Regions from separate parts of the Homo sapiens genome. Here region 2 is linked to region 1. The links are contacts of gene promoters, found by promoter capture Hi-C in human tissues and cell types (Jung and others, 2019). All regions are on one chromosome and are shown on one strand. Each heading gives the region's core, a stretch centred on a gene start or on the middle of the fragment in contact. The rest is flanking DNA. Distances are from core to core; before and after follow the strand shown.

What was found. Contacts are between HindIII fragments. The study calls those that stand out against the background at their distance.
Region 2: a contact is called between a fragment that was not itself captured here and the fragment with the promoter of RPS14 in region 1, in 1 of the 25 tissues and cell types used here (mesenchymal stem cells).

The regions. Positions count from the first base shown.
Region 1 is chr5:150,444,795-150,452,008 of GRCh38, forward strand. RPS14 (ribosomal protein S14) reads right to left here and starts at 4,945. Exons shown (of 5, transcript NM_005617.4): 1 at 4,909-4,945; 2 at 2,791-2,941; 3 at 2,008-2,169; 4 at 815-891. The coding sequence starts at 2,939. RefSeq lists enhancers at 4,462-5,400, 5,014-5,333. The HindIII fragment of the contact is 12,843 bases long and covers 1-7,214 here.
Region 2 is chr5:150,031,308-150,038,770 of GRCh38, forward strand. It overlaps HMGXB3 (HMG-box containing 3), which reads left to right. Exons shown (of 20, transcript NM_014983.3): 11 at 1,147-1,296; 12 at 5,329-5,630; 13 at 6,093-6,220. Among named protein-coding and RNA genes, the nearest start is that of HMGXB3, 34 kb to the left of the region's middle. RefSeq lists enhancers at 3,910-3,959, 4,080-4,289. The HindIII fragment of the contact is 6,609 bases long and covers 1-6,559 here.

The sequences.
Region 1 (7,214 bases), core at 3,695-6,194:
GCTGGTGGAACGCCTGAGGCCAGGAGTTTGGGACCAACCTGGGCAACATGGTGAAACTCCCCGCTACAAAAAAAAAAAGCCCGGTGTGGCACACACTGTTGTCCCAGCTACTCAGTAGATGCAGGTGGGAGGATCCTTTGGACAGATCCGCCCACGAGGCGAAATTTACAGTGAGCTGAGATTGTGCCACTGAATTCCAGCCCACGCAACAGAGCCAGACCCTGTCTCAAGAAAACAAAATCATCCTTCAAGTAGGACACAGTAGGAACTTTGGCCTGGGGCGTCAGTGTATGTCGCTACTAACTGCACAGAACAATGTGCAGGGAAAGACTACTGTTCCCTTCCTAAGAGCTGTAAGGAGCCAGGAGATCACAGGCCTGAGGGTATTAATAACAGAAGCTGGTACCCCCCACTTCATTTTTGGCTGTCACACGACTGGCATGCCCAACTGATATTTAGTAGGCGGAAACCAAAAATGCTGAACATCCTACAATGCAGGAGATGGTACACACAAAATGCTAATAGCAATGACCTCAAGAATGGAGGAAAGGACAATTCATCTCTTGTCAGTTTTACCTGCACCAGGCAGTGTAGGACAGAGATTCACAAATGAAACAGGACATTCATATCAAGGTGACAGAGATATTCAGGGAGAGATTTTTAAGTCACAAGGTGCCTCTTGCAGCCTCCCTTAACAAACTTAACTGCCAAAAGTGACCAGACCAGCCGCTGCACATCCACTGGGCACAGCACGTGCTTTTTGGGGCCAATGCTTCAAAATAAACCCAAGCATTAGCTAGAGGGGGGCACTTACCAATCCGCCCGATCTTCATACCCGAGCGGGCAAGGGCTCTGAGGGCCGACTGGGCCCCAGGTCCAGGGGTCTTGGTCCTAGAAAATGAAGGTTTAAGTTAAGAAGAGCCTTTGGCCAAGTCAATGGAAGATCTCCTTTCTAAGATCCCAACACCCCGCTAGTTCAGAGGTCTGCAAACTTTCTGTAAAGAGCCAGACAGGGCTGTACACAGTGGTTCACACCCATAATCTCAGCACCTTGGGAGGCTAAGGCAGGGCGGACTGCTTCAGCTCAGGAGTTCAAGACCAGCCTGAGCAACATGGTGAAACCCCATCTCTACAAAAATACACAATTTAGCCAGGCGTGGTGGCACTACTACTAGCAGTCCCAGCTACTCGGGAGGCTGAGGTGGGAGGACTGCTAGAGCCTGAAAGCCAGAGACTGCAGTAAGCTGAGATAGCGCCACTGCACTCCAGCCTGGGTGAGAGTGAGACCCTGTCTCAAAAAAGAGGAAAAAAAAAAAAGCCAGACAGTAAATATTTTAGGCTGAGGGGGCCACTATGGTTTGTTGTTATGTTCTGACCACTGTCTGGCTTGTTCACGCAACAGTCATCTATTTCAGCTTTCATGCCCCCATCACTCAAATCCAGGTCCTTCCCCTCTCCTACAGGACTCCACCTCTTCCCCTCTGACTGCACCTCATGCCACTCTTTCCTTCACAGGTGCCCAGGTTCACCCCCACCTCAAGACCTTTCCCTGCAGTTGTCTCTAGCTGGAATACCCTCCTCCTGTCCTTATTTCACTGGAAGGACTCCGGACTTATCATTTAGACCCTAGTTTAAATTACACTTTATCACCAACTCCTTACTTGTGCTTCCTGGCATTTGTCACAAATGAAAACCACATACTCCCTGGTGCTCTGTTGTTTAAAGTCTGACTCTCCCACCAGCCTCGGTCCCACACAAGGAGGGTAGAGACCATGTCTGTTTCCCCATCACTCTCTTCTAGTACCTGAAACACAGCTCCTAGTATACAGTGGGTGCTCAACACTGAGCTGCTGGGGGGTGTACACAGGAGCCAATTATTAAGTATGTATATGCCTAAAATATCTTGTTCAAGGTCACAACAAAAAACCCAAACCTCAAATCCAGGTGCTCCAGCACCCAAGCCCAGCAGGTTTTCTACCACCCAGCCATCCCCTCTGCGACTCGTACCTATTTCCTCCTGTGGCCCGGAGTTTGATGTGTAGGGCGGTGATACCCAGCTCCTTGCACCTCTGGGCCACATCCTGGGCAGCCAACATAGCAGCATATGGTGAGGATTCATCTCGGTCTGCCTTTACCTTCATCCCACCAGTCACACGGCAGATGGTTTCCCTGGGGACAAAAGCACAGGGTCATTTCTTCCTCGTCCAACAAGGAGTGCTTACGATATCCTAATGAGTGAAGAGCAACACAGCTCAGTCATGGTGGAGGATGATGGTCATGGGCTCTGCCCTCATGGAGTTCAGTCCAGTGGGGTTGAATGGCCCAATATAGCTATACTCAGTATTAACATTTTATATATCTACTTTTGCATTTAATCCTTACCATTACTCCACAAGGTAGACATTACTGTCCTAATTTTACATATGAGGAAACCAAAACTCAGAATCTGAGTGATTTCACACAAGTCACAACTTGCTAAATGGCCGTCGAACCCGCACCCAGAGCCCACTTGCAGTCCACTGCTGCTCCTGCAAAGGGAACTAGGGAAAGAAGATAATTCCCAAGAAACCAAGGATTCAATGACCATCACGCTGTAAGGACGAAGAATGTGTCTCCTCTCTTGTAACCCCTGGGAAATCACAATATTTGTGGGCTAAATGGACAAGCACATTTTCTTACCTGGACAAAACAGCATTTCTTTAGAGAGAATCCCCTGAACTGCTAGCCCGTCCCAGCCATTGCCTTCCTCAGCCTTTTGCCAGCTGGATGCCTCTCCACCCAGGTACTCACTTGCCAGAAAGATCAGTGACATGGACAAAAGTGTCATTGAAGGATGCAAAGATATGGCAGACACCAAATACATTCTCTCCTTCAGCCACCTGAGGTCCGAGGCTGATGACCTGTTCTTCCTTCTTTTCCTTCCCCTTTCGAGGTGCCATTTCTGAGTGGAAGGAAAAGAAACTCAAGGTTAACAGACAAAACATTTCCAGAATCCCTTTCCCCTGGCTATTAAATGAAACCCTAGTCCTGCTTCATGTCCCTGTCTTCTTCCATCCAATACTCTACTGTATTCTCTCATTTCTGCCTCACTAAAACTTCTTTCTCCTTGCACTTGGGGGGGTATCAACTGTGGCCACATGGCAAAGTACCATGAGAAGTATCCTTTCCCCAGAAACTACCAACAGCTCAGCTCACAGCACCTACAAGATAGAAGCCTAGGGATCTAGCAGCAGATGCCTGAAGGCTGCACCCCAAAAGGCAAGAAGAAACCCAAGACCAACAGCTACCCATGTACTGGTACCATTCCTAACACCCTTCATGGGGCGAGGGAGCTGCTTGATTCCTGCATGAACTCCTCAGCTTAGAATTCAAGGGACCCTTACCAACACAGCCCTCAAGCCTCTCATCTCCTGTTTTCCTGTGCTCCACCTGATCCCTTCAAAATGTTCAAAAATGCAACTGATTTGACTCCCACAACTATTTAGAACTAAATCTTTGTCACCAACATCAAATATCAAAGGCACTAAAATATATCCAAAAGGCAGGCTAATGGAAAAGACCCATCTCAGAAATCTGATGGGTCCTGAGACTAAATAACTCTAACCTATTATGACCTTCATAATAATTGCAATCATACTGTCACAAGATCTAAGGGAGAGAGAAACTGACAGGAGGAAGGCGGGTGAGAATGAATGAGAAAGTGGAAGGCTAGGATAAGACTGCTTCCGGCCTAAAGCCCCAGGCCTTCTGAACCTCCTGGTGTTCAGAACAATTTAACATTTTCAGAAGACACTAACACTAATCGATATCCTGCAGATGGTGAAGATAGAGAGTGTCTCAGCCTATGGTCACAGTAAAGACAGTGGCAAAACCAAACATAGAAACAACGTGTCCTGACTCCCAGCCCAGCACTCTCTGCCTCCTGCCAAGATGCCTCTACACCACAAATAACTACCCTAGTCTGTCTCAGGTGTTCCTAGATCTCTCCTCTGCCTTCCCTATATAAACTTTAGTTAAGTGTGTGACCACAGTAAGTACTTCAAGTGTAAGTCTTGGGTGTACGAAGTTAAATGTTCCTATCTTCAAATCAGACCAATGAGCACGACCCAGTGCGTTAACTATTGTAAGGAACGCGCCACAGGAGAGAAGCCCAAAGTTCTGCCTCGAGAAGCATAGAAAGGCTCCAGCATATCTCAAATACGTAAGCATGAGTATGTTTCGGCATGATGGCCATTCAGTAAATGCCAATTTGCAGTTTCTCCGTTCCTAACATCCCCTAAAGTAACGAGCAGAGTGGTCATCAGGAGTATATAAACGCAGGGCAAGCGCACAGCAAACATTGGTGCTGGGCCCTGAGCGCCCAGAACTTGCAACGTGCCCGACTCAGCAACGGAAAGAATCGCCCAGATTTAGAAGCATCCAACATAGTGCGAGAGTTTTCCCTGCTTTCCTTCTTTGAATGATCACTACAAACCCATGGGATCGGTGCTATTGTTATTCCTATTTTGCAAACGAGGAAACAAACGAGATTAGGCGTGGGCCTGCGATCACCAAGAAAAAAGTTTGGCGAGGTAGAGGCGGGAGCCCACGTCTGTCCCGGGTTCCCTCAACTACGCTGTGCAGCTCAAACGCGGCCGTGGCCGTGGCCGTATTGCGGGGCCGAGGCCTTAAAAGGCTGGACCCGCACTCACCCTTACTTCACAAGCTCCTCCCTGAAAGCAAAACGGGCCTTCTGAGACCAGGAACGAACTCAATCCCGAGTTGGCCAGGATCCAGGTGGGCCAGCCGCGCGTCTCTTGCCCGGCACCTAGCTCGGTTCCCACGGAAAGACCCCCGTCTCTCGTCCCAAGCCCCACAGGGTCCCCTCGCCGCAGGATGCCCCCCGATTGTCGCGCCCGGGCCTCCTACCTGCACGTCGTCTCCAGACTCCACACCGGAAAGAGAGAGTGGGAGGGGGCGGAGCGACGGGGGTCACTTCCGTGTCCCGGAAGTATACCTCTGAGGTCACGGGGCGAGGTCGGGTTCCGGAAGACGCCGGCATTATTCCTCCCAAAGAGTTTAAGACTCGTCATAAGGAAAGACGGTTTATTACTTAAGGGAGAGCGAAAAGAGGTAGAGGGCTGGTTGTCGCTGCGAGCGGGTCGGCCTAAGCGACAGTACGAAGCGGCTACACCCGCGGGGTGAGGTGGGCCTGTATTCCATGATGGCGGTGGTCGTGGCTAGACAGACTTCCGCCATCCTGACTCCCGCCCTGGCAGCCTTGGAGCGGCAGCGCCCCTTGTGTGGAGCAGGGGAATAACAACAACAAAACGGCCTTAATTAAAGCTAGGGTGGCGCCGGCCTGTGGTCCCAGTTACTCAGGAGGCTGAGGATCGCTTCGTCCAAGTAGTTCGAGGCCAGCCTAGGCAACATAGTCGGGGAAAACACACCGTAATCACTTACTTTGGCATATTATATAATGGGCAAAATAAGAATAAATTATTCAATATGTATTTTCAGACCGGTCTGGGCTAAACAGTTTATATGCATTGCTTCATTTACTCCTCAAGACATTATCAAATAATTTTGATTTCCCTCTTACAGATAAAGGATGTTAACTGAGAGCACACCTTTGCAGAAGGGTTTGGAATTCTAGCTTCAAAGCCCTCGTGTTTAATAGCTACTTCCACATAGCCCTCTAATAACAATATACATGTATATATTTCGACCGAATCTTGTTCTGTAGCCAAGGCTGGAGTGCAGTGGCGCAATCTCGGCTGACCGCAACCTCTGCCTCCCAGGTTCAAGCTATTCTGCCTCAGCCTCCCAAGTAGCTGGGACTACAGGCGCGTGCCACCACGCCCGACAAATTTTTTGTGTGTGTGTATTAGTAGAGACGGGGTTTTACCGTGTTGACTAGGGTGGTCTGGATTTTCTGACCTCGTGATCCACCTGCCTCGGCCTCCCAAAGTGCTGGGATTACAGGCGTGAGCCACCGTGCCCAGCCTCTAATAACAATATTGAAGGACCTTGAAGGCTTGGGAGAATATGTCGGAGCTGTGGGGAAGGGCCAAGAAGTGTACCTCACAGAGCTAGGCAAGCGGTAGATACATTTTATCTATGTACTATATGTAATATTTATATGGAATATATATAGTATTTTTGTATTACATACTATATAAATATTATAAATATATTTTAAATATATAAATATATCCCGTGGCTCCAGCCTGGGTGACACAGCGAGACCCTGTCTCAAAAAAAAAAAAAATTTATTCTGCTAAACTGAAAAACTCAACATACCTTCTTTTTTTTTTTGAGACGGAGTCTGGCTCTTGTTGCCCAGGCTGGAGTGCAGTGACGCCATCTTGGCTCACTGCAAGCTCCGCCTCCTGGGTTCAAGTGATTCTCCTGCCTCATCTCCCGAGTAGCTGGGATTACAGGTGTGCGCCACCACACCCGGCTAATTTTTGTATTTTTAGTAGAGACGGGGTTTCACCATGTTGTCCAGGCTGGTCTCGAACTCCTGCCTCAGGTGATCCACCCGCCTCGGTCTCCCAAAGGGCTGGCATTATAGGCGTGAGCCAATGCACCCAGCCTCAACATACCTTCTCGTTGCATTGCATTTCTTCGATGATGAGTGACGTCAGACATCTCTTTACGGATTGTTTTAACCATTTGCATCTCTTCTGTGAAATGTCTGTATTTTTTGAAGGAGAGGGCTTTTTTGTTTTAATGAGCTTCCCAGTATGTTAGCAGAGACTGGAGTATTGTGGAGTGAGTTCCGCTTTGATTAAGAGTTGTATTAAACAGACCTCCAAACCTCATGTGGCTTCATGGAGGGAGCAAGCCTTGATCTTATGGCTGAAGGCAGCCCACACAATCACCTCAGGACAAATTTTTCCACAGGGAAGCCTATCTTTATCCCAGAAACCATCAAAGTCACTGCTTTCAAACTCCACTTTATTTAATCAACATATTTATTGTTTCTGCAGTTATTAGCTATGGTTCTTTGGGCAAAAATTGTAACCTCTCTGGGCTTCAGTTTTCTCATCTGTGAAATGGGATGATAATAGCATATTTTTATTTTTATTCATTTTTTTTTTTTTTTTTGAGACAGAGTCTCACTGTTGCCTTCCCCTGCCTCAGCCTCCCTAGTAGCTGGGACTACAGGCACACACCACCACACCCGGGTAGTTTTTTTTTTTTTTTTTTGTATTTTTAGTAGAGACGGG
Region 2 (7,463 bases), core at 2,005-4,504, 420 kb before region 1:
TTCCCTTTATTTTTAACATAACACATATTAACGTCCTAATGGACAAATGTGTGACATTGGGATCACCCTTTTGTAGGGCAGGCAGCATAGAGCAGGGAAATAAATGCTAGACAGCTGAGAGACCTGGTCCAAAAGGAGTTCTGGCTCTGCTGCTAGCATGCCATATGCCACTGGGCAAGATTCTTTCCTTCTGTGGTCCTCAGTTTCACTATCTGTAAAGTGCTGCATTGGTTTAGACATCTTTGGGGCATCTGTCACTCTCAACATTCTCTAATTCTGTTGATGCTTAAAGTATCAACCAGCAAGATGTCTTTTGGCAGTTTCTCTAGCTGATTTGATTAAGATGAACAGATTTTGAGAGAACAGCTAGATTTTTAAAAAGTCTTGCCTCATAATGGCAGACAGGTTCAGAAAGGGTCATTCATTCCTTCAAAAAATATTTATTGAGCACATATTCTGTACTAGGATCTGTACTGGGGATTCAGTAGCAAACAAGACAGCACAATGTGATGGGTTAATGTCTGGCCTGACCTGATCCATAAGGAGAATGTGTCTCTTATCCTGGAGATCTGCTCAGGTTTCTTTCTCTTGTGACCTAAATATAATCACTACCTTTTCCATGCCTTCACTCACCACTCCCTTTGGCTACAGGAGGCAACTAGATTTACCATTTAGGGGGAACTACCCCTGAGTAGACCCTCTCTTCTGCTGATTAGATAGTAACTTGTCATAGGAGCTTAGATGCTAGAGCTTTGAGCTTTAATAGTCTGTAAGTCACAGTTTGTCTTCAGGCAGGGCTTGAACTCTTTAGTTCACCAGTCTCAAGCACTCTTTGTTTAAACAGACCTGCTTTACTCCACCAACTGCCTGGACCCTGAAGGCATTTGAGTTTCTGACCATTGAGAGTCAACTCTCCTGTTTCACAGATAGGGAAGGACTGGACTGGATTTGCCAAAAATTTACAGCCTGTATTAAAAGTAAAAGAGTTAACTGCAGAAAAGGTTAAGGCTCTTGAAGTTAGGCTGAATCTGGTTTGCAGTTGCCACTCTCTTCTCTGATTTACTGGCAGCTGCTCATTCTGGTTCTGGGTTCTGCCCAGGTTTAACTTAATTTTTGTAGAATTGAACACTGGTCTTACTTTTTTAGGATTTGGGCCTGGCTACATCAAGAGGCCGGGGAAAGTGCAAGAATCCCTCTTGTAGCTATGTCTACACCAACAGGCACAAACCTCGAATTTGTCCCAGCTGTGGTGTTAACCTTGCCAAAGACCGGACTGAGAAAACCACCAAGGCTATCGTGAGTTCCTTCCCCCAAACACATCCCCTGGCCTGTTCTGGGCTCTGTTAGTGAACCTGTCTTAGTAGAAATAAGAAGATTTTTAAAGTACATGGTGGTAGTTAGAGCATCCAAACTGAACCAGTTGGTGGGTTCTGAACCTGAGCAAGTGCCGCCTTTTCTCTGAGCCTCCTTGTCCCCATTGCCAGGGTGAAGGGGTTGACTAGGTATCTTGATCTCTGAGAACCAAGAGTTCACTCACTGCAGAGAATGATGTAGCACAGGCCTTAAGTAGGAGTGAAAGGAGAGGGACGAAAGGGTTGCATCCTCTTACCGCTGAGGCCTGATACAAGACCTGTAAGTTGATTTACTGTTTCGGTAAATAGAGAATGCCAACCTGAGACTTTGCAGATTAGACCACCGCTGCTTTCTCAGGCTCCTTGGAAAGCTTTTAGTTAATCAAAGCTTTATTTCTAGCAGTCTAGGCAGCCCTCCTCTCTGAAGTTGGGCCAAACTACTTGGGTAGTAAAATACATTCCACTTGGCTCCTTAGGGCTGCTATTATTATTATTACTATTACCAGGAAAAATGGGCATTTTCAGAGGTCCCCAGAATTTCCATATGAGTTTTTTAAAGTGAACAGAAAATGGTGGCACTTGAGGCAGCAAATGGAAGGACTAAAATAAGGATGAGAAGAGAAATGTCACTGGTCTGCCTTGGGGAAAGAGGGGATGGCACACAGAACAGGTCAGGACCTGAGATGGAGCCTGGTCACTCCAGATCAAGGCTGGACCTTGAAAGGCAGGCAGGTTTTGAATGGAAGGGGAAGGCATGCCATACTTAAGTCTCTCCCACTAGACTGTAGTCTGGTGAGTGAACATGAAGTGTGAGTATGGATAAGGATAAGTGTGAGTGATAAGGATAAGTGTGAGTGAACATGAAGAGTGTTCCATTTGGCTGGAGGAGATGGCGTGGGGGCATGGGGTGGGAGAAGGGGTGTTACGGAAAATAAGACGTGAAAAGCATCTTGGAACCATGTCATGGAAGGTCTTGTCAGTTTGTTCTTTAGTCAGTGGGGTCCTACTGAATGTCCTTGAGCCGGGGAGAGGCCTAGAGGAAAGTTATTTCAAGAGGGGAATTTATGGGATGAGAGTTTGGGAGTAGACAGGACTACAGAGGTGGGGAGAACTGCTTCAAGCTTAGAGGTTTATTTGTATATGGAGAGAGGCCTTTTTGATGATGAATCTCACCCTGGTCTCCAGAGTCTGTTTCCGTGCTTGAGGTGATGTTCTGAGGTTATTGTCCTTGTGAGAAAGGAAAGTGGAACCAAAGTATGTGGGCACTAATGGCTTGGTGGGAAAAACACTGGGGCTGGGAGTGACCCTGAGTTGGAAGCTTCCCTCTCCCGAGCTTTAGTTTCTCCATTGGTAAAGTAAGGTGGGCAAGGTAGATTAGATCTGGGCATTTTACTCTTAAGAGACAGGAGCCTTAGAGAAGACTGATAATTGAGTTTTAAGGAGTTTATAAATCCCTGAAATTGCATGCAAAATGGGTCCGTAGCTTTCATCAGATTCTCTTGCTCCACTGGATGCCTGCTGCTGGAAGTAAGCTTTCTTCCCGGATTTTCAGTGGGTTTCAAAGTGCTCTTCTTGCCATAGCATTGATCACACCCCATATTGACTGCTTTTCTTAACTCCCTATGAGACCACAATCTCTTCTAGGGCAGGTATGTCTGTTTTTCCTGCACCTTCTAACCCTGGAGCTTACATATACAAAGTGTGTCTATCTGTAATTAGGAGATAGAATTGAGTTCTGTGTAGGTAGAAGCTCTGAGCATTCCTTTCTCCTTCCAGTTCATTTTAGCTATTTGCGCGGTTTGCAGTGGAAGTGGGTGTTACTCTCTAGATCTAGGATGATGAAGGAACTTAACTTCTCAGGTGACATAGGAAATTATCTAGGGACCTCTTGCCAATTTCAAATCCCACTCTTAAACTTATATCCATCTGTATTTGGTTAACTGAGAACTGCCCACCCCCAGGACCCTCATCTGCAGACCTTCCATCACTTTCCAATCTCCTAAAGTTTGGAGAAATACAGTGTAATTACTGCTTTCCAGAAAATAAAGCACTGGTCAGAACCACAGGGATCTTCTTGTGTGTTGTCATTTGGAGCCCCCTGGTAGCCAGATGTTTTCACATCTCTGAGATGGAATGGTCTTTAGTCCTTTCTATCCTTCATCTCTGGCGAGAGTCACGGGACAGTATTCCTGCCAAGTGGTCTTCCAGCTGTGGTTTCATAGTCATGACTGAGAACACACAGCCTCTCGGGGCAGCTCATTCTAGTGTTAGTCAGCTCTTCTGTAGCCACTGATTAATTAATTCTCTCAGCCAGCCTATATTGAATGCCTGCTATGGGCCAGGCTTTCAGAGATGAATAGGACGTGGCCCTTTCCCTTGAAGAGCTTACAGTCTAGTGGGAGAGAAAGATAACCAAGCTATTACAAATGAAAGTTGTCATAGGTATGCGGAGTTAATAAAAAGCTCCTTATTAAGTGTCCTAGTCTGTTTTGTGTTGCTATAAAAGAATACCTGAGGCTAGGCAATTTATAAAGCAAAGAGGTTTATGTGGCTCATAATTTGGCAGTCTGTACAAGAACCATAGTACCAACATCTTTTTTGGTGAGGGCCTCAGACTGCCTCCACTCATGGTGGAAGGCAAGGGGAGCCAGCATGCATAGAGATCACATACAGAAAAAGGAAGCGAAACTCATTCACCACCTCCCTTGCTCCTGCCCCACGATAATCTACTCATGAGGGATCTGCCCCCCTGACCCAAGTACCTCCCTTTAGGACCTGCCTCCAACGTTGGGGATCACATTTCAACATGAGATTTGGAGACGGTAAACATCCAAACTATAGCATTAAGCATTTAACTTCTACAGAGCCATGTATAATATGTCCATCACATATGAATCAGTATCTTATGTGTGTCTCAGGCATCATGCTGGTTGGGAATCAGTAAATAAGCAGAATCCTACCCTTACTGAAGCGGGGAGGGTGGTGGTTTAGCAGCTGTCAGATGATGAATTCTGCAGTCAAGGGGTGCACTCAGAGAACACAAAGCGGGGAGTGATTTATGCTGCCTTGGCAAAAAGGATCAGGGAGAAGCTCCATTGAAGAGAGACCTGCTTGAGAAAGACCTATTTTTAATGAGTATTTCAGAACATTGTTCCTGGAAGCCTCTGACTGGTATACAAAATTACCTTGTACCCAGAAGCCACCGAGAATTAAAGACAGATAACTTTAAGCAGTGCAGATACTTGTTTATGTATCAAAACTATCATTCATAGAGCCTTCATTGCACCATAGGCATTGTGCTAAGTGCTTTACTTATAATATCTTACTTAATCTGTATAATGGCTCTAAGAGATTACTATTTTTATGCCCCATTTCACAGATGAGGAAATTGAGACTCAGAAAGATTAAGTAAATTGCCTTGGGTCCCACATACACAGCTGTTAAGTGGCATATCCAGAACTGAAACCTGGGTCTGTTATCCTCTAAACCCCATACCTGATGAATGAGAGCTAAGTGTTGAATCCATTACCAAGAGTTGTATATAATCCTCTCATTTACTGATACAGGTTGACTATCCTGTATCTGAAGTGCTTGATACCAGAAGTGTTTTGGATTATTTCATAATTTGCAATATTTGCAGAATACATACTGCTTGAGCATCCCTAATCCAGTGATTCAAAATCTGAGATGTCTAATGAGCATATCCCTTGAATGTTGTCTCAGTGGTCAAAAAATTTCAGATTTCAGAGCATTTTGGATTGGGGTGCTCAACCTGTAGAGAAACTGAGCCCCACAGAGAAAAATAACCAGCCTTTAGTCACACAGTGAGTTATTAGCTGAGCTGGTTAGGAACCTAGGTTTGCCACCTATCAGTCATGGGCCCCATCTGTCTGCTGCTCCCAGACTTTTATTATTTTAGCCTGAAGCTGGCTCTTTCTGCTCTGAGTGCTTGGTGATCAATCCACTCTCTTCCCAGGAGGTGAGCTCACCACTCCCAGATGTACTGAATGCCACAGAGCCCCTGAGCACAGCCCAGAGGGAGATCCAGCGCCAGTCCACACTGCAGCTGCTGCGCAAAGTCCTGCAGATTCCTGAGAATGAGTCAGAGCTGGCTGAGGTCTTCGCCTTGATTCATGAACTCAACAGCTCTCGACTTATCTTGTCCAACGTGAGTGAGGAGACAGTCACCATCGAGCAAACCTCTTGGTCGAATTATTATGAGTCTCCGTCCACGCAGTGCCTTCTCTGTAGCAGCCCATTATTCAAAGGGGGACAAAAGTAAGCACCCCTTAACTCTGCCCCTAGCTACCCCATCCCATTTGGCTCATACTGCTCTTTTCTTCAGAAAACATTAAAACTATAACTGTGAAGATGTTATTCTCTGCCGTTTTTAGGCTTCCTTTAACTTTCTGATTGCTGAAAGTAAAGTAATAATTGGTAATTATCATTTCTGTTGAAATGCCTGAAAGTTATCACCAGATTAGGATTTAGTTTACATCTGGACTGCCCCACACAATGTTTAGGTTTGGGAGTTCATTGGGATTGGTTAAATTATGTAATAAATTCAGAGTTACATTAATTGTAGGGATGATTCCACAGATTCCAACAAAGTGGAAATACCTACCTAGAAAATCCTAAGCTCCAGCAAATGAGAATTTGCCATTGATCACTGAGCCCTGGAACTCCATAAAGAAGTCTCTTTCCCTTCTTTTTTTTTGTTGGTGATGTTTCTGGTACTAGCTCCCTGGCTGGGCCCCAGGAGTGCTGGCTGCTGACAGCCAGCCGTCTGCAGACAGTGACTGCCCAGGTGAAGATGTGTCTGAACCCCCATTGTCTGGCCCTGCACAGCTTCATAGACATCTACACAGGTGGGTGCCAACCTTCTCTTCCCTCAGAGCATCCCAAAGCAGGCTTGGGAACTGCCTCTATGGATGAGACCTCTGGCCCTTTGAGGACTGGGCCTTCTCAGATGGGGCTTCTGAGGAAGGGGGAGTCTTCTTCCTAAATGTCTTAGTCCCACAAGATGACTTTTACCTCTCAAGTGTTGAAGCTCTCAACTGGGATCTTTAAAATAACAGATCTTCATTGTGGAAGGGCTGGAAAATGCAGACAAATAAAAAGAGGAAACAAAAAATCAAGAGCATTGCTACTGCCATGAGATAAACACTTATTTAACAGTGTGATCAATCTTCCAGAAATGTTTATTCATCTGTGCAGAATATAAGAAATTATAGGATGTATAGGTTTATAGTCTTTCTTTGAACAAAAGTACGGTTGTGCTAGATGTTGTTTTGGAATGTGCTTTTTAAACTTAGGGGTACATTGTGGGCATCTTCCTGTGCCAGCAAGTAGAGAAGTACATGACCATTTTTATAGGGATGTATGGTGCTCCAGTTTACACTTTTGTGATTCAGTCTTTGTGTACAGCCCTAATTTGTCTTTTGGACAAATACTCAGAAGTGGAATTGCTGCACATTTACCCTTTCCTCCCCTATTATTCATCAACATCAGGCATTTGTGGAACACTCACCGTGTACCAGCCATTTTAAGACTTTGGTTGAATCCTAAGTTTTGTTTGTAGAATTGAGTGCTGAAGATGAAAGTGTATTTTTGATGTATTCTCTTTGTCTTAGAACTTAATGGTGCTTTATTTTGAATTCATGTTTTTAATGTCTTATATTATTAGATTGAGTTTGTACTATTTTATGCTCTTGCCAACAGTTAACAAAAGTGCCTATTACCCTGTTGTCTATCCAGGCTAGTACTCAGGATTATATATTTATTTAGTCAACATGTATTTTAAAATTTACATGTAGTTAAGTGTGTTGCTCCAAGTTCCATAAGTTCTGACAGATGCACTAAGTGGTGTAACTACCTTCACAATCAATATATAGAACAGGTCTATCACCCAAAACATTCTCTTTTACTGTTCCTTTGTATTTAAACCCATCCCTCTCCCCCAACCTCTGGTAACTGTTTGATCTCATCTTTATCCATATAGTGTTCTCTTTCCCAGAATGTCATGTGAAAGCAATTATGGCACGTAGCCTTTTGAGTCTGGCTTCTTTCAGTAAGTTAATCCTTTGAGAGTCATCCATATTGTGTTTATCA